2 separate regions of the Homo sapiens genome follow, and region 1 is linked to region 2. The links are contacts of gene promoters, found by promoter capture Hi-C in blood cells and fetal thymus (Javierre and others, 2016). All regions are on one chromosome and are shown on one strand. Each heading gives the region's core, a stretch centred on a gene start or on the middle of the fragment in contact. The rest is flanking DNA. Distances are from core to core; before and after follow the strand shown. Region 1 overlaps SPATA31J1 (SPATA31 subfamily J member 1). Region 2 holds the start of LTC4S (leukotriene C4 synthase).

Evidence for each region. Contacts are between HindIII fragments. The CHiCAGO score rates a contact against its expected background, and 5 or more counts as called.
Region 1: a fragment that was not itself captured here is called in contact with the fragment with the promoter of LTC4S in region 2 in 2 of 17 cell types (neutrophils and monocytes); the score reaches 8.3 in neutrophils.

Annotation. Positions count from the first base shown.
Region 1 is chr5:179,639,689-179,642,388 of GRCh38, forward strand. SPATA31J1 (SPATA31 subfamily J member 1) reads right to left here. Exons shown (of 6, transcript NR_131066.1): 5 at 2,638-2,700; 6 at 1,856-2,190. All of the region lies in intron 4 of LOC128966623 (a long non-coding RNA gene), which reads left to right. Among named protein-coding and RNA genes, the nearest start is that of SPATA31J1, 4.0 kb to the right of the region's middle. The HindIII fragment of the contact is 4,198 bases long and covers 1-2,700 here.
Region 2 is chr5:179,792,671-179,795,372 of GRCh38, forward strand. LTC4S (leukotriene C4 synthase) reads left to right here and starts at 1,316. Exons shown (of 5, transcript NM_145867.2): 1 at 1,316-1,468. The coding sequence starts at 1,411. RefSeq lists enhancers at 504-1,131, 706-785, 806-955, 2,439-2,702 and a silencer at 1,306-1,375. The HindIII fragment of the contact is 38,202 bases long and covers 1-2,702 here.

The DNA.
Region 1 (2,700 bases), core at 50-2,549, 150 kb before region 2:
GGCCGGGCATGGTGGCTCACGCCTGTGTTCCCAGCACTCTGGGAGGCCGAGGTGGATGGATCATGAGGTCAGGAGATCAAGACCATCCTGGCTAACCCGGTGAAACCCCGTCTCTACTAAAAATTCAAAAAAAAATTTAGCCAGGCGTGGTGGCGGGCGCCTATAGTCCCAGCTACTCGAGAGGCTGAATTGGGAGAATGGCGTCAACCCGGGAGGCAGAGGTTGCAGTGAGCAGAGCTCCTGCCACTGTATTCCAGCCTGTGTGACAGAGTGAGACTCTGTCTCAAAAAAAAAAAAAAAAAAAAAAAAAATGTAAGGAGCAACCCACAGCATGAGGGAAAATATTTGCCAACAACAAATCAAACAACTCAATTCAAAAATGCATGAAGGGGACTGGTGCAGTGACGCATGCCTGTAATCCCAGCACTTTGGGAGTCTGAGGTGGGTGGATCACGAGGTCAGGAGTTTGAGACCAGCCTGACCAACATTGTGAAACCCCATCTCTACTAAAAATGCAAAAATTAGCTGGGCGTGGTGGCGTGCGCCTGTAATCCCAGCTACTCAGGAGGCTGAGGCAGGAGAATCGCTTGAACCTGGGAGGCAGAAGTTGCAGTGAGCCGAGATCGCGCCACTGCACTCCAGCCTGCGTGACAGAGCGAGACTCCGTCTAAAATAAATAAATAAATGAAAAAAATGCATGAAGGGGCCAGACCCGGTGGCTGAGGCAGGTGGATCACTTGAGGCCAAGAGTTCGAGACCAGCCTGGGCAACACAGCAAACCCCATCTCTACAGAAAATACAAAAATTCGTCAGGCATGGTGGTGTGTGTCTGTGGTCCCAGCTACTGGGGAGGTTGAGGCAGAAGGACTGCTTGAGGCTGAGAGGCAAAAAAAAAAAAAAAAAATAGCCAGTGGTTCATGCCTGTAATCCCAGCACTTTGAGAGGCTGACGCCAGCAGATCAGTTGAGGCCAGGAGTTCGAGACCAGCCTAGGCAGTGGTGGCCAGCACCTATAATCCCAGTTACCCGGGAACCTGAGGCAGGAGAATCGCTTGAACCTGGGAGGTGGAGGTTGCAGTGAGCCAACATCGCGCCACTGTACTCCAGCTTGGGCAATAAAGTGAGACTCTGTCTCAAACAAACAAACAAAAAGGCCGAGCGGGGTGGCTCACACCTGTAATCCCAGCACTTTGGGAGGCTGAGGCGGGCGGATCACGAGGTCAAGAGATGGAGACCATCCTGGTCAACATGGTGAAACCTTGTCTCTACTAAAAATACAAAAATTAGCCAGGCGTGGTGGCGGGCGCCTGTAGTCCCAGCTGCTCAGGAGGCTGAGGCAGGAGAATGGCTTGAATCCAGGAGGTGGAGATTGCAGTGAGTTGCGATCTCGCCACTGCACTCCAGTTTGGGTAACAGAGCAAGACTCCGTCTCAAAAAAATAAAACAAAACAAAACAAAACTGAGTAGTTCAACAGCTTAAGCCATGTTGGCTGAACATTAAGACTTTGTCAAATCCTAAGGAACAAAATAATATTAAAATTAGGAAGAATTATTTTGCCATAGGATAAAATAGAAATACTGCCATACATTTGACTTACTTGTTTAAAAACCAGACCTCACAAACCTGACCCAAGTTATGTGCAAAATAATGTGCCAGTTGCACAGCCCCTGGAGGCCAGTGTGAGCCCACATGCCTCTGCTGGTTTATTTCTAGAATCCACTCGCTGTGGGTCTTGATCGTGTTTCCAAAACAAGGAAGTCACCCATCTCTAGTTCAGGCCTTGTTACCAATGAAATTTTAAAATATGACATTGATACCATTTGACTGGACAATAACTAAAATTGGACAAAGAAGATATTTTCCTCTCATTGGAGGTTGCAGCATTTTATTCAGGTTTACAATTTATGATTCATCCAGCCGTGGTGGCTCAAGCCTATAATCCCAGCACTTTGAGAGGCTGAGGTGGGCAGATATCTCAAGGTCAGGAGTTCAAGACAAGCCTGGCTAACATGGTGACACCTTCTCTCGACTAAAATTACAAAAATTAGCTGGGTGCGGTGGCACAAGCCTGTAATCCCAGTTACTCGGGAGGCTGAGGCAGGAGAATGGCTTGAATCCGGGAGGCGGAGGTTGTGGTGAGCCAAGATGGTGCCACTGCACTCCAGCCTGAGCAACAGAGTGAGACTCCATCTAAAAAAAAAAAAAAAAATTGTGATTGTGTAAACTGTGACTCAGGGAACTGCAGAGAACAGAAGTTTGCAGGTCTACACGTGGAATCTGCAGTTCTGTTAGGAGAGACTGGCATTGCAAAAGAGCAGCAATTCCTGAGCATCTTCCCCAGCAGAGAGCCCATTCTGGGGGCAATGTTGACAATGACCCAGAGTCTCTGGGTTCTCCAGTGGGGGGCACAGCTGATGTTATCCCTCCTGTGCTGGCAGTTTTCTAAGTGAGTTCAGATCCTCTAGGAAGGAAGATCTGTGTGTGCAGCGCTGTGGAAGAGGTCTCTGTGGGCGCCAAGCCTCCCAAGGAGATTTACGGGCTCCAGGGACTGGAGGTTTGGACCCCATCTCCGTCTCTCCCAATCCATTAGAACATGCATTTCCAGCATCTGTGGGGTGCGCAGATGAGGGGACGCACCTCCAAGTTGTCCTCAGGAGATTCCCAATTGTTCGTGGATGTCGGATATTCGGTGTCCATGGG
Region 2 (2,702 bases), core at 66-2,565:
TCCGGGGGCAGGGGCGATACCCAGAGGAGGAAGAAGGGATTCTGAGAGAGCCCAACAGGCTCCGAGCCTCAGGCTGGAGCTGAGCTTGGGGCAGCAAGGAAGGACCAGGTGCGAGGGCAGAACCATGCGGCCCGACCCCTGCAGCACGGCCTGTGGCCTCCCCCAGCTCCTGCCCGTGCTTCTGGGTCAGTCTGGACTTTGCCACTTCTGACCAAAAGCCACCGCAAACCCACTCAAGCCAAAAGAGGAAGTGACCGTTAGGCCCAACTGGGAAGGCTGGCGGCCAGGGGCACTCCAGGCAGGGCGAGGGGGGCGGCCGGGGGCGCTCCAGGCGGGGCGAGGGAGACACCCAGAACTCCAGGCAGGAGTCCTCGGGTGCCACCTTTCCTCTCCACCTGGCCCTGCGTGGGCTCTGTCCTCAGGGTGGCCCGCCGTAGTCCCCCTCCCCACTCTGAGTTTCCTGTCCCAAAGTCCTAAGGAAGTTTCCAGAACTACATCTCACCATCTTGAGTCAGCCTTGGCTCAGTGTCCATCTCACAGGCCTGGAAGGGGCAGGAGTCAGCACTGTCCAGACCACAGGGCCTGAGTGTGGGGAGGGCAGCCGTCTAGGAAGGTGGTGGAGGGTTGTTACCTTGAGGCAAGAGGGCTGCGGGGCAGAAAGACACAGCAGGTGACTGTTGTGGGAGGCCCAAGAGAGGCCTGGGAGAGGGATGGCCCACAAGGGCTGACCCTCCCGCCACCCAGGGGGCCTTGGACAGGTTTCCTCCTGGCAGGGTGGCCCTTGTGCATGGAACCCCTACAACGACTAAGGCTGGCAGGCATGAGGTTTCCTGAAGGAGAAAGAGCTTGTGGGGCCCAGTGTGGCTGGGGGGGCGCTGGGACTCCATTCTGAAGCCAAAGGCACTGGGAAGGGCTTCCGCAGAGGAGGGTTTGGCAGGGGTTGCCAGGAACAGCCTGGATGGGGACAGGGAACAGATAAGGTGGGTGGAGGAGTTAGCCGGGAGCCTGGGGCTGGCTCCAGCATGATGTGGGGGTCTGCAAGGCCCTGGAGAAAGTGGGGTGGTGCAGCAGGGGGCACACCCACAGCTGGAGCTGACCCAGATGGACAGCTTGGGCTCTGCCACGCGGGACTAGGCAAGGAAGGGGCACGAACAAGCAGGAAGTGGTGAGGCGGTCTCCAGCTAGCTGCTCTCCCCTGCCCAGACTTTGGTTTCCTCCCTGCTGGCTTGGCCTGGCTCCCTGGCTCTGTGTGGTATGGTCACACCCCCGTGCACCCCCTCCACTGAGATGGGGCGGGGAGAGCACCGAGGCTGCTCTTCCTCTCCTGGGCCGTCCTCTGAGCAGCAGACGGGGCTAAGCGTTCCCCAGCTCGCCTTCACACACAGCCCGTGCCACCACACCGACGGTACCATGAAGGACGAGGTAGCTCTACTGGCTGCTGTCACCCTCCTGGGAGTCCTGCTGCAAGGTGGGCTGGTTCCTATCTAGGAAGAGGGTGGGCCTTAGATCCCTACAGCTTGCCCTCTGCCCCCTAGGCCCAGGTGGAGGGCAGAGGTGGGGACTCCAGCCCAGGCCCAAGCTGGAAGAGGGTGGGGACTTTCAGGGAACTGGGGGGCACCTGGCTGTGAGAGCTGTAGGACTTGGGGGTGGCAAGGGTGCCAGGACAAATGGTAGGATAGCCATGGGCTTGGGGAAGCTGATCTCTGCTCTTTCCAGCTGTCCCCTCTCTGGGCGTCCCAGCAAGCGGCCCCCATTCCCTGGCTCTGCTTCAAAGGCACCTCCATACTGGGACCACGTGGAGCAGGGTAGAGGTGGGACTCCTTCCTCCAGCCCCCTAAAAAGAGCCTGCTTAATGCCTTTCTCAGACTGGCCCTAAAGGACACATTCCTTGGCCAGATATCCTTGCCACCTAAGAGACACCACTACTCCACAGTGTGTGGGCTAGGATAAGGCACAGCCTGGGGAGGGGGCTCTGAAGGGGCTGAACAGACAGGCCAGCCTGACCTCCAGCTGCTCCTGCACTGAGCTGGATGGCCACCCTGTGACACCCATCTGCAGAGGGCCCAGAACCAAAGGTGCCAGGGCTGCAGGACTCAGGGGGAGATGGTCCGACGGGAGGTCTGGGGAGGGAGCGCACAGCCAGCACTGGTCTGTGTGTGGTCTGGCCTGGCCTCACCTGACCAAGAGAAGGGCTCCTGCCCACAGAGAAACTTTAGGGCCAGCCCACCCTCTGCAACTACCCCAGCCCTGGGGTCCTGGGGTTAGGCTAGGAGAGTCCCAGCTGCAACCTCCTGGGAGCAGGAGAGAAGGTGTCTGTCAGATTTAGGCCTGGGACCGGAATGCAGGAACAGAGAAACTGAGGTTTGGAGGCACAGGGACGCAGGCTTTAGTGATCCCGGCCTGAGGCAGGGTCAGAGGGCCCTGCTGGTGGGCGCTGGTAGGTGGGTGACCAGGGACTGTTAGCTACAGGGAGTGTGCTTCCTTGCACCTGGGAGGATGCAGCCAGCTCTGCCCTCAGACTCCCGAGGCACTTCCTGGCCAGGGACCTGAAAGCTGCATTTGCCTGTGTTTTGAGAGTGAAATGATTCAGAAACAAGGACTCAAGTGGTCTCTCTCGCGGAGCAGGTGTCCCTGTGCCTGAATCACTCACCCTCCCCCATACACTCACAGGTTGGGACAGGGCCTCTCTGCGCCCCAGGCTT